2 separate regions of the Homo sapiens genome follow, and region 2 is linked to region 1. The links are contacts of gene promoters, found by promoter capture Hi-C in human tissues and cell types (Jung and others, 2019). All regions are on one chromosome and are shown on one strand. The core of a region is centred on a gene start or on the middle of the fragment in contact, and the rest is flanking DNA. Distances in the headings are between cores, read along the strand shown. Region 1 holds the start of MLPH (melanophilin). Region 2 overlaps COL6A3 (collagen type VI alpha 3 chain).

The links. Contacts are between HindIII fragments. The study calls those that stand out against the background at their distance.
Region 2: a contact is called between a fragment that was not itself captured here and the fragment with the promoter of MLPH in region 1, in 1 of the 25 tissues and cell types used here (IMR-90 fibroblasts).

What each region holds. Positions count from the first base shown.
Region 1 is chr2:237,484,490-237,491,352 of GRCh38, forward strand. It overlaps MLPH (melanophilin), which reads left to right and starts at 2,762. Exons shown (of 16, transcript NM_024101.7): 1 at 2,762-2,948. LOC105373957 (a long non-coding RNA gene) reads right to left here and starts at 2,659. Exons shown (of 2, transcript XR_001739962.2): 1 at 2,322-2,659; 2 at 1,211-2,232. RefSeq lists an enhancer at 1,629-2,597 and a silencer at 5,797-6,091. The HindIII fragment of the contact is 7,222 bases long and covers 1-3,739 here.
Region 2 is chr2:237,339,037-237,345,899 of GRCh38, forward strand. It overlaps COL6A3 (collagen type VI alpha 3 chain), which reads right to left. Exons shown (of 44, transcript NM_004369.4): 33 at 6,145-6,177; 34 at 6,022-6,058; 35 at 5,905-5,916; 36 at 5,314-5,807; 37 at 3,029-3,125; 38 at 1,416-2,114; 39 at 1-81. Among named protein-coding and RNA genes, the nearest start is that of COL6A3, 72 kb to the right of the region's middle. The HindIII fragment of the contact is 6,001 bases long and covers 745-6,745 here.

The DNA.
Region 1 (6,863 bases), core at 1,512-4,011:
ACAGAACATGAGATTCTAAACTGGATCGTTTGGCAACAAAAAATTACGGAGACAACTGGCAACATTTGAAAGGACTCCGATGATTAGATGATAGCAACATATCATGTACAGATGTTGATGGTTGGATTGCAGTTTAATAGAAGGTTGTCCTTGTTTGTATAAAATACACTAAACCCTCATGTCAGAAACTCCATCACAAATGGCTAGGGGAAGGTAGGGTTCTTTGTGTTATACTTGAAACTTTCTGTAATTTGGGGATTGTTTAATCATTTTAAATGTTTATAATTCCAGGGCCGGGTGCAGTGGCTCACACCTATAATCCCAGCACTTTGGGAGGCCGAGGAGGGTGGATCACGAGGTCAAGAGATCAAGACCATCCCGGCCAACATGGTGAAACCCCGTCTCTACTAAAAATACAAAAATTAGTGGTGGTGTGCGTCTGTAGTTCCAGCTACTGGGGAGGCTGAGGCAGGAGAATTGCTTGAACCCGGGAGGCAGACGTTGCAGTAAGCCGAGATCAAGCCACTGCACTCCAGCCTGGCAACAGAGCAAGATTCCATCTCCATTAAAAAAAAAAAAAAAAGTTTATAATTCTAGAATTTTCTCTTAAAATTGTATACATCCTTTGACTCAGAAAATCCAAATCTATAGGCTTTTAGTCTACAGATATATCAGTATGTATGTACAATGATATTCATGTGTCATCCTATGTATGATAGGTGTCAATAAGAATTATCTAGGATGATATTTATGGCAGAATCATTTAAATAGCAAAAAATCAAAAATTAACTGTCCATCAATAGAAGACTGGTAAGTAATTATGGTAACTCACACATTGGATACTCTGCAACCAAAAAAGGATGAAGTAGATCAACAGGAATAGTAATTAATATTTACCAAGCACTCACCACATGGTGTCTCACCCAAGCTGCAGGGATATTGATTCACAACACCCTTATGTGTAACTCCCATTACTATTCTCATCATGGAGAAGAGAGAAAAAAGTCAGTAGAAGATTCAGTAACAGGTCCAAGATGACACAGCTTGTGGGCCACACTCCTAGTTGGAATTCCGACTCTTGCAGTTGGTTTGAGCCCACATGCTTAACCTCACACACACACACACCATTCAGAAAGAATATAGAAGACACCATTAATAATGATTGCTTTCTGGTCATGGAGGTTAGTAATGGAATAAGAGAGAATTTGGCTTTTCATTTTATACTCCTTATATTCTTTACTATATACCTTATATATCAGCGTGTGTCAGTTGTATATTTTTTAAAACCACTACTTCAAATAAATAAGCACTAAAGTATTAAAAACATTTTTAAAAACTTCTGCCCTTAAGGAACTTAAGTCCCTACATCAACTCTTAAGGGATTTATTAATCTTAACAAGTAACAGTAAAGTATATGGCAAGGAGGTAAGGAAATGAAAAACATAAGCACCAGATCATATGGGATGTGGAAATACTGGCTTCAGTGTAAGCTTCACTCTATTCCAGGGTTCACACTCAACAATTGATGGTGTTTGGTAAGAGCACCTGTCTCAAAGCAGCCCAGGGGCCTGAAATACCCTGATTCACCTACAGTGTTCCCCTGGGCTCAGCAGGCAACAACATTCTTTTTTGTTCTTTTGCAGCCTTTTGAAAGCTGTTTACAAATAATCTAATGTGATATCACAACAATCCTATAAGGTTTTGATTCCTCTTCTGTTAAATGGAGATACTAGTATCTATTCATTCACCTAATGGCTTTATTCCTATCATTTTGCAGATAGGAAAACTGAATTGCAAAAGCGGTTCCTGGAGAACAGAATGTGAGTTTTTAAGTGACAAGGGAGAGGGAGGGGGAGGGAGAGAAAATTCTGAAGCGCCCAGTCTTGGAGGATGAGGGAGGAGGGCAATTCCCTAATGTCCATTGGAATTCGGAAGGACAGGCAGGCCGGGCGGACTGGAGACGGCGGCTCGCCTTGGGACCCTCTGAGCTTGCGGGCCCCGCTGAGCACCCAAAGGCCGGCCCTAGAGTCCAGGAGAAGAGCGCAGCGGCGCGGAGCTCCCAGGCGTTCCCCGCAGCGCGTCCTCGGTCCTGGAACCACCGCGCCGCGCGTCCTGGCTTCCACATCTGCCCCATTTGCCCGCGGATCTTGACTTTTTCTTGGCGGGCAAGGCCTCGGTCTCCTCCCCGCAGCAGGGCTGCCCGCGGCTGCGGGACCCTCCTGGTCCTGATGCCTGGCAGAATCGAAGGGGTGAGGGTACGCTCTCTGCAGCAGAAAGCCCTGGGCTTAAAGTCCTATTTATTATTTGGCGTTGCCACTTACTGGTCGGTGGCTTTGGTAGGGCGCGTTTCTGAGCCTCAGTTTCCCCATTTGTAAAGCCGAAGTACATAGCGCTTTCCCTGCAGAGTTAGAAATTTCGACGATGTGCCGCGCGCTCTAGAGCGCGCTCAGCAAGCGGGTCCCACCGTGCCCAAGGCAGGACCGCGGCGCGATGTCACCTATGCAAAGTCGCCGCAACTCACGGGAATCGCAGCTGTGTGCTCAACTTTCCCCTCCCCGCCGCCGTCTTTCTCCCCAAACTGGCTTGGGGGTCGAGTATCCGGGGCTCTCCCCCGCACTGGCGCTTCCCGCGCGGGCGCCCCAGGTGTCCGTTCCGTTCCGCCCTCTGCCTGGCAGGGCATCCAGAGGTGTCCGCGCTCCCGGAGCTGGGCGGAGCGGGGCGCAGCCCACGTGGTTCGGGCGGGAGGCGCCGGGACGTGGCCAGTTGCCCGCCTGCCCCGGAGAGCCAGGCGCTAACCAGCCGCTCTGCGCCCCGCGCCCTGCTTGCCCCCATTATCCAGCCTTGCCCCGGCGCCCTGACCTGACGCCCTGGCCTGACGCCCTGCTTCGTCGCCTCCTTTCTCTCCCAGGTGCTGGACCAGGGACTGAGCGTCCCCCGGAGAGGGTCCGGTGAGTGCACTGAGAAGAGGGAACAGCGGGGCCAGGGTGGCGCCCAGGACTCGGGGCTTAGGCTTTGGGGGGTGCGCGGTGTCGCGTGCAGACCCACTGGTGTGAAAACGCCCCCAGCCGCCAGCCTCCCGGCCTCGGTCCAGGCTGGTGAGGACAGCGCGTTCCCAGCCACCCAGCCTTAGTCCCCCAGGCTTCACCTGGATTCTTTGAGCAGACTGCTCTGGGTGCAGGCACGGGTGGGAGTGGGATGGCGGGGGATCCCCATTTTGGGCAAAACGGTTGGTTTTAATCAGAAGCTCCATTGCCTCCATTGCGAGTCTGCCATGCAGACTGGGCCAAGGCTGCTGATGCCAAGTAGGCTGGCCCCAGGGGAAAGGTTTCCTCCCAGCCCAGGAGCTGGTCTTGGGGTGAGGAAGAGGCCAGATGATCTTGGCCTGGGAGGAGGCACCTGGCTTCCTCTGGGCGTCTAAAAGTCTGTTTTATTGGAATCACCTTTTGTTTGCAGACAGACTCCCTGGGCCCACCAGGGAGGTGTGGGAAGTAGAGATGTGGGAAGGGTCTGTGAGCTGTGAGCACCTGTGGGCTTCGTCCCTACTAGCCCCAAGTCCCTACAGGAACGGAATCTCACTTGTAAATCCCTTCCCCGGGCTTAGACACCGCGTCCCACTGACATTAACTGGCACTGGAAACTCCACCTCACTTCCACACGGAACTTGGGACAGGTCCTTTTTTAGATGGTGTGACTGGTATCTTCTTCACTTATTTCTTTCTGAGGGAGTGAAATGACAGTCGGGGGAGAGCAAGGCTCCCAATAGGTGCAAAGGCCAGCATTGCTGGGGGCTGTGAAGTCTCAGGAAAAGGCTTCTGGACTTGCAGACCGCGTTGCTGAGCAGTGACATTGACACCCCGGGTTCAGCTGTCCTGCATCTGTCCTAGGAAACCCATCCCTCCAGCTGGCCTGCATCTGTCCTAGGAAACCCATCCCTCCAGCTGGCCTGCATCTGTCCTAGGAAACACATCCCTCCACCTGCTCATTGGCGGGATTCAGCTGACCTCAGTAAGGCCTCAGCCTTCCTGGGCCCAGCCCCCTCCCTGCCCAGGACCGTGCTCCTTAGTATCTAAGTACCAGGCATGGGTCACTGTGCTCCTGGCCCTCACTCAGGCTCTAAGAACAGTAGCAGGTGCCTCAGAGGATTGACTGAGGACACATTTAGAGAACATGGGATGGTGCCCGGCACACACATGGGGAGTCAGTGGGTCTTACTGAGTACGACATGAGTGACTCAGAAAAAAATTAAAACAAACCAGCTGAATGTGTGCCCAGTGAGGGGCTGGAGGTGGTGGAAGTGTCCCAGAGCCCTGTGGGCTAATGGGAAAAGTGAAATTGGTGCCTTTCAACCACAATGCAATAACGGCTCAAATAAGCCCCAGTCTCAGTGGTTGGGGCAGCCTTCTAGGGCCAACTGTCTTGTTCTTTTCAGAAGCAACCTCTGGAGGAACAGTCTTTGCCCCTACTCCTCCCCACTACCCCCACACCATCACTCCCCCTCTTAATTTCAACATCCTGGCATCATCCAGGGCTGGAGAGGGCCAGAGAGGTCTTGGAGCTCAGCCATTGTCCATGGTACAGATGGGGAAACTAAGACCCTGAGAGGAGGGGCATCTTTCCCAGGTGGCTGGGCTGGCTGTGCCTGAACTGGGATGGGAACCCAGCTCCCACCTCTCAGCACCATCCTCCTACAGCCTCACCTGGGACCCATCCTTGCGGTAGAGACTAGCACTGAGGCTTTAGGTGTAAATGCAGAACTCATGTCCATTTATAAATGAGGTTTACCACCAACTCCCCAGAGAACTGGGAGAGCAGAGGGGATGGCAAGTTGGTGGGCAGGTGGCTGAGGGGCAGAACACCCTCCCAGTGCTGTTGCTGCTGGGGCCATTCCAGACCCTTGTGGCTACAGCACAGATGTGCCTGGTTCACTTGTAGGGAAGGGAGTGGCCCTTCTAGGTGGAAATGTGCTCATTTAGCCACTGATGAGAGCTGGGGGTCAGTGCCTACTGATGGGCCCCACCTATAGAAATAACCATACAGGCTGACCTGGACGGCAGCATTCGGGAAACAGCCACAAAGGATTAAGGCAGAGGGCACTACAGTTGTCATCTCTGCCACCTCCCCTTTATCAGCAAGAATAACACCACACGACACACCTTGGCTCTGAGTCAGAGAGAGCATTCCTGCTGTTGTTAGCTTGCCAGTTTGTTTGCCCAGGCGAGTAATCACCCACAATCACCATTGTTCCAAGGCTCCCCAAGCAGCCAGCCCAAGAGCTAGTTAAGCCAATTCTTCATCCAGGAGGAACCCCCACCCTGATTTCCCTTCAATTTGGCCAAAAAATTAATTCAACTCTTTAGCGGATAAAGATGACACACTACTGGAATTCAGCAGTCTGGGCCTGGGATACCCATCTTATAAAACCAGCTCCACTCTCTCCTCCCTGCCTATTAATCCCTGTGTCCCGTCCCTCTGCCCCACTATGGCTATTCAACTGCTGGGGAAGGCTGGCTGTCTCCAATGTTTAAAATATGATCGAATCTGAGCAGTGGAACAGGCAGTAAGTGGAAGTGTTTTGTTCAGGAACCTCGTGAGCAGGCGTTATCTAAACAGAAATGGAACAAGGAGCAGATAGAGCAGGGTGGCGTCTGCCCTCCCCCAGCACATACTCTGGGAGCCCCCACCCCACCCAGCTAGGGCAGGCACAGAGCAGCCCTGCACTCCTCATGGGTCTAGCATATTCTCTGCCCTCACCTCCCTGAGCCCATGGAGGTCGAGGCAGCAGTGAGCCATGATTGCACTATCGCACTGCAGCCTGAGCGACAGACCAGGACCTCATCTAAAAAAAAAAAAGAAAGAAAACCATTTGAAAGGGGATAGAATGGGGGAGGGACAGATATCCAAGCAGCCTCTAGGACATTGGTTGTGATGCTCTGTGATCTTTTTATCCATTCACTTCCTGGTCACTGACTGTGCTCTAAGAATGTGAAGCTTGCAAGACAAGAAAAGCAGGTTTTTCCTTTTGTTTTGCTTTTCTTCCTCACACATCATGATTTAAGTTTCTCAAACTGAGGCCTGGAATTTTGGCTTCTATGTTAGGAGAAGAGAGGGAATGATAATGCCTCAGCTGATGGTCACACTGTCCATCCATTCTGAAAATAGAATGTCGGTGAATGCTCTTCTTATGATCCCTTTTTTTTCAGAACTCATGAAAAATAAAAGTGAATGAACTCCAGTCATGCATCAAATAATAACTTTTTGTTCCAATTCTTTAGAAACCAGAAAGTGTGTGCTCTGTGAGAGCATCAAAAATGAGTTCGGTAGTAAGTCCATTTCTTGACCAGAACCTAAATCTGACTGTAAAGGAACAGAGTTTGAATGCTCCCAGGGCATTGGGGCAATCTCTTCTTGTATTGCAAACACTCAACTTTATGTTTGAGAGTGGAAATGTTGACGAATGGGTGCAAAAAAATTCAACGAATTATCCTTCTCCATTTTTATGGCATAAGCCAGGGACTATTTTGGCTGACTTCCATGACAGCTCTGTAGACATTTTTATTTTAAATGGTATCTGCCCAGAAAATGTCCCTTTTCATAGTTAACCTCTTGTGCAACAAAATCGAAGTACGTCTCCAGCACAGGGGGAGTTTTGTTAGTATTTTTATGATAAACGCTTCCAAATGGTCAGCAGCACTGATGGGAGATGCTTCTCAGAATTCAGAAGCAAAATTGTGTCTTTTTGGTGGTTTTGAGACTTCCCCCTGAAAGCACACAGATTGGACCCCTTCTCTAATGTTCCTGAGAAAATAGGTTCAAGTCCTCAAGGAAAACTTATTGAAATTACGAGGTGGTTTTTAAACTTTCAG
Region 2 (6,863 bases), core at 2,495-4,994, 140 kb before region 1:
CAAGGTTCTTTGTGGGTTGGTCCCCTTGGAACCAATCACACTGTTTCCTGATATCTGGGGACAAGTAAAAAGCATTTTCACCTAAAGAAAAAAAACAAAGAAAACAATTGAACCGCATGCTAATAACATGAAAATTAAAATTAATCTGTCAACAAGTTAAATGAATCACATAACATTTATTTAGCCCATAATTATTGTTGAATTAACTATATCAGACAAACTATGTCCAGTGATTTTAAACATAAAGTATGATGGCATTGGATCCATAAAACATGGTAAGCCAATATGTTCTATTTGGCAATATTTGGGTGATTAAGTTAAAGATATATTTATCCAACATGAGAGAGAAGACAGGGATAGAAGAAAAATCAAGTGGAGAGTTCAACAAGTTCTAGACTCTTGGACATCAGATTATAATGCAACTGCTTTTCAGATTTTCTCAATGCTTTGTTGAACAAAGCTTTTGTTTTTAATCTTTGGAAGACAGGAACAGTGACCTGTGGGTGAACCTGGGGGATTACCTTTGCTTCACATTTTTCTTTGAATCTTTTGGGGGCCAGACCTTCACAAATGTGAATACTGTTTTCATAGACCTCAACATTGCCTTAAATAATAAACATTTAGCATATACATGTTTATTTATACTTTATAAATCCCCCTCATCTGTTCCAAGCCTTGCCTGTACTGACCCTGGGCTGCACACTGTACACAGGCTCTGGAAACTATAATAGGCTGCACCTCCTCAAAGAGCAGTCTAGGGGACCACAGACCCACAAATAAATGATCAACAGGCCAGGTAATAGATGCCCTAAATAGGGTGTCCGGATTAACCATGAGCAGGCCTTGGGAGCAGCAGCTTCCACGGCGAGCAGAAGCCATTGGAATTGAACTTTGAAGATGAATATGGGTTTGCTGCTGAAGTGCGGTGGAGAGCATTCCAGGGAGGGGGAGCCCCATGAGCAAAGACCCAGTGGTATCCAAGCACGGGGCTGGTGGCTAAGCCCCGATCAAAGCAACTCTTTCTAGAAGCTTTCCCCGGTGCCCCTAACAGAAATCACTTCTCTCGCGACATGCCAGCCTATTATGTCATGCGTAATAAATGTGCATTTGATCCATTTGCCCACCCATTTGTAAACTGTTAAGGACACCAAGAGTGCCTTATGACTAGGTGGCGCTTGGTCAAATGTGGTGGAATAAAGGAATCAATGAGAACAAGGATACTGTCTGCATGTTCCCTGCTTACTCTGGCTCCTAAAAGCATTTGTGGCATATGGCAGGTGTCAATATATGTCTGTTCAATGAATGAAACAGTTCCTGTCAACACATCGGTTGTCTTTTCCATGACTGTTCCTACACTTCTCCTGGCCCGAGCATAAAGCCAGGCCAGGGCACATGCTGTGCCACGCAGGACTTACTGCTGACGAAGGATGGCAACAGCCTCCCGAAGCGCATCAAAGGCTCCTCGTTGAGCTCGGTGGACTTGTCCACTAATTTGAAGAAGACGTCGTTTGGCTCACTGGCGAAGGTGTATACCTCCTTGATGTTCACCTTCCTGCCAATGCCCAGGACCACGAAGAAGTAGCCCTTGCATTTGGCCTGCAGGATGACTCTCTGGGCCTCCTCCAGCTGCTGCTCCGGCACCTCGCCCGTCAGCATCAGGACCACAATTTTCAGGTCCCGTGGGTTTGGGGCACTTTCAAAGACATTCTCTATGGTGTATTCAATGGCACTGCCTAAGGCCCTGGTTCCCTGCAACTGTGTCATTCCCCTGCTGAGGAAGTCCACCAGCTTCTCCTTGGAGCCATAGTCAGTCAGGGAGAATTCCACCTTCACAGGTGGCATGCTGGCATTGTCCACGGACTCAGAGGGCGCGTGCTGCACAACTGCCACTCTGGCGAAGTGCTGGGAGGCCTTGGGATCTGGGCTCATGTCCAGTTGTCTGACCAGGTACGCTATGTACTTCTTCATCTCATTGAACTGGAACAGGGTGGTGGTCTCAGCGCTGTCTAAGATGAAAGCCATGTCGATGTCCACATCGCTCCCTGCCGCTCTCCTGTCCCTGAAGGAAGGCCTCCAACTGCCAAATCCACAGGATGGGTCGATGTTGCAGATGTCTAGAAAGAAGCATGGCAGCCTATTTGTTCTGTGACACCCACAGCAGGATACACAGCTCATCAATCTGCTGGGAGACTTGGGCGATTAAAATGATCACATAAGATCAAAAGCGGGCCGGAAGCGGTGGCTCACGCCTGTAATCCCAGCACTTTGGGAGGCCGAGGCAGGTGGATCACGAGGTCAAGAGATCGAGATCATCCTGGCCAACATGGTGAAACCCTGTCTCTACTAAAAATACAAAAATTAGCTGGGCCTGATGGCGCATGCCTGTAATCTAGGCTACTCTGGAGGCTGAGGCAGGAGAATCGCTTGAACCCAGGAAGCAGAGGTTGCAGTGAGCCAAGATTGTGCCACTGCACTCCAGCCTGGGCAACAAGAGCAAGACTCTGTCTAAAAAAAAAAAAAAAAAAAAAAAAAAAACATCACAACCAAAACCAATTTATATCTTGCCTTGATTTGATTATGGCCAGATTTCAGTTTCTATCACCTAATACTTAGTAGATGAAACAAATCACTAACCTAAAATCTTTGTAGCATACCATGTGCTGGCATTTTTAAAAGAAATGAAAAATTATATTACTTCTCTGCCACTCTTTGAAGAAATATGTTCTAGAAAGTCACTAGTGCCAATGTTTTCATTCTAGATTCTAATGTCAAAACTTAAGCAGAAACTGCCTCCTCCTTTGTTACCTATAAAATGAATTATCCGCCATCAAAGAGAAGCTCTGTTTTGGGAGGTCCATTTTTAATATAGAAACTGCTGCAGTAGTATTTACTCTGGTAAATACGAGGCTTTGTGAATCAATTGAACTCAAGCTCTTTTTACAGATCATCATTATTCTCTCACTCTCCCATGGATATTATGTTTTGCAATTGCAGCTGAGCAGATCTTCCTGTTAGAGAAACAGCTTACCCAAGCAAACATGACACGTGAGGACATTCTCCAGGAAGTCTGTGAGGTCTCTCCCTGCAGGCAGGACAAGCGCATGCCCCACTGCTGTGTTATTGATCTGGTTTAAACAAAAGAACAATTTTGGTAGGGGCGTACATGATCAGTAATATCTGAAAATATGGCAGAGGAGTAAATCAAAGCTACATCAATAAAATAGATTAACTTCCCAATAGGGCAGTATTGGGAATATCTTCTCATTTGGGGGTGGGGTTAGGCTCTGAGTATAATAGAAAGACATAGGTTTTATTCTACTAGGGTGAGCTGGAGTTCATATCCCGTTCAAATGGGTTTCAGTTTTTTTCAGCTGTAAAATGGGGGGTAATACCTTCCTAATGGTGTCATTTGGAGGGTTAAATTAGATAATAAATGTTAGTAACTGGTGTATCCTCTGGCAAATAGTAGGAACTTAATCTTATCGTTATTTTTAGCAACAATATGGGAGCTCCATCCCTTCCCCACCCTCTCAGGTGTGGTTAAAGCAAGTAACAAAATCACTCCCAGTGGGTGCAAAGAGTCCTGTCTATCGCCGTACCTGGCACACGATTAGTAATTATTCATTTAACAAATAGCTAGTTTGAATGAATGAATGAGCAAATAATTAATGAATGAACAATTTTTTGATCTCGTTGAAACCATGCTAAGAAACTCACGTGGTTCTGGGTCCCTCAGCCCACACAAGGACAGACTTATGTGAATGAATCCCCCCATCAAGAGCACATGGCCGGTAGCCCAACTTCAACACTGAATTCCCAAGCCCAGCGCTCTATGCACAAATCATCCTGTGTTCGGCAGAACAAGCCCTGAGGAATGGCAGTGATGACCCAATGTCTTTCGCCGACACAGGCTGTGGTAAAAGCATAGAATATCCAATGTGGAAGGAAAGACATTAGCAATCATCCTGCCCCAGTCTCAATTTACAGGTGAAAAATCTGAGACGCAGGGACGCTAAGTGGCGTGCACATTACTTTAAATGGGTGGGGGGAGTGTGGAACCAGGCCAAGGCCTCCTGACTCCCGGGTGGACTCCTTCCTACCCATCACCCATCTGTCTTGAACAGTATCGCCAGAACTGCACTGAATAAATATTAATTGATGTAAGAATTAAACTAGTTGTCTGGGTGCGGTGGCTTACGCCTGTAACCCCAGCACTTTGGGAGGCCGAGGCAGGCAGATCACGTGGTCAGGAGTTCGAGACCAGTCTGACCAATATGGTGAAACCCCCGTCTCTACTAAAAAAAAAAAAAAGAAAGAAAAATACAAAAATTAGCCAGGCATGGTGGCGAGTGCCTGTAATCCCAGCTACTCAGGAGGCTGAAGCAGGAGAATCACTTAAAACTGGAAGGTGGAGGTTGCAGTGAGCCGAGATCACGCCATTGCACTCCAGCCTGGGTGACAGAGCAAGACTCTGTCTCAAAAAAAAAAAAAAAAAAAAAAAAAAAAAAAAAAAAAAAAAAAAAAAAAAAAAAAAAAAAAACACACAATTAAACCAGTTATTTAATAGAATTACAAGCGACACTTGGCCTCTCCGTGGGCTGACCCTTGGGGCCTCACTGAAGAAAGCTTTGCACAGTGGTGTGGTGTAGATTGGGGGTGCTGAGTCGGCATAGTTTTGGGGACCTCACTGAGAGACTACAGGCCTCCAGGGCCACCCTGGATATTCACCTTCAGGGCCGATTGGGACAGAGTGGAGACTGGAATGGGTATCATCAGCACATGGGTTTCAGAGTCTAATGGACTAGGGTCCTAGCCTCTCACGAGCACCTCACTAACAGCAGGATCTTCCTATCCATGAGGTGAGACTGATGATACAAACCTCACCAGCCAGTTATGGGAAGCAAATGCCCAGTACACAGTAAGACACAGCTCAGAGTGTGCACAGGGGGCCATCTTGGGAGGAGACAGGAAGGATGCAAACGTCCAGGTCCTCATGAATAAAGCAAACAAGTCACACCACCTTGTTAGTAGATAGAGAGTGTCACCAACACTAGCATCACTAACCGGCAAGAGCTGTCAACATGTGAGGAGGGACCTGGGGGCAGTGCTACAAGCATGTAGGCGTCCCTGTAGTGCTGGAGCCACGAGGTTGTCCTGGAGACCTCACAAGAGAAGTTCTCAGGCAGATGGCCTCATTGGGGACGTTTTAGGAGCTATGGGACATGAAGCCACAAAGGAGCATGGACGTGTCTGAGAACCTTCTCAGAGCCCCAGAAGAAAGGGAGATGCCAACAGCACGCACAGAGCACAGACCTGCAAAGCGTTGATGAGCTGCCGGTCTTCCTGCCTTGTAAGGAACAAGGGGGTGATCCCCGCATCTGAGAGCTTGAGCACAGCCTCTCTGAGCTGTGGGGATGCTCTTGTGGGTGTGTTGCTGAAGAAAACAGCCACTTTCCTCATTAGGAATCCGTTCCTCACACGCTTAAATGTGTTCCTGGCCACAAACGACATGGCAGTCTCCAGACTCTGCTGTTTGGATGTCAGAGCCACCTGAAGGTTCTTAATCTTGTCCAGGAGGACCGACTTCCTCTTGGAGTCAGCAAACCGGATCTCCGTGGTCACCTCGTTGTTGTAGGTGACCACAGCCACCCGGGCCCCCCGTGGGCAGTTGCTCTCAGCAATGGTCAGGTCATTCACAATACTCAAGACCACATCTCGCATCCGGCCGAAAGTGTCTTGGTTGACTCCCTCAGAGGTGTCTAAAGCAAAGGCTAGTTCTGTTGGGAAGACGGGGCACTCCAGGGGCCCTGTGGAAAGTAGAGGGTGGAGGGTTAAAGACAAACTGTACTTACTACAAAAGGGAGGCTTCCTTTCCTTAGGAGAAAGTCACCAAAATCAACTTACCGTAACAGCAAGCTAGAAAAGAAGCAAAGAGAAGAAAGGGTGAGAGACTACTCTACCATGTGAGAATTTCGAATGTAAAAATATGCATTGTGAGACAACAGAAAATCATGTACTTACGGCATTTATCTTTGATGCTTTGGATGAGGGCACATTGCTTTAAAAGAAAATAAAAGAATATGTAAAGAGAGCAAATCAAAGGCTCATGAGGTTAATGAGTCATTCTGGACACATGCAACTTACATCGATGGAGTCGCCCCTGTTGCCCTTGGGACCCTGTAAAACCAAGGAACGAAAGGTGAGAGGCACAGCAGATGGGGAATTCGAATAAACAGGCTTTGGCCCCCAGAAATACACAGAGCAAGACAAAGGGGCCCCTGGATAACCTTGATTGTTTACAGCCTCTCCCTCTAAACCTGATCTTATCCCTTGCAAAGCAAAAAAGAGAAGATTCTGGAGCAAATGTGTTTCCCTGGGAGGTCATTTGGCCTTTGAAATAGTCTCATGTTCTGAAACCAGGAAGCTCACCACCAATCCATGTAAAGCCCACGAGTGAACCTGGGTCTAGATTCTGCTTCTCTTGAGAAAAGAGCTCCCTTTCACACGCTTGATACGCTGTCCCCTGCCGAAGGGGCAGTGAGAGATCATTGAGCTGCCCTGGCTCCCTCCGTGTCTAAAGCATCCCAGCTGAATTCCACCCCGAGGAGCTCTAGGGACTGACTCGTGGCTTCCCTCAGTGTCCCATGCCTAAACCTCACCACCCTGACAGCCCAGCAGGCATCTCATGGGCCATTAGTTGTCTTTCCAGGAGGCTATTTCTGCCTGCTTGGTCTTCTGCAGGAACTGGCTTAATGTGCTCCCCCCAACACTTCACCTACTTAAAGACAGCAATCAGACCCACCTGACCAGCTTTCTTTTCCCTAATTCAACCAAACTAAGCCCTGAACCTTTCCTTCTAGGAA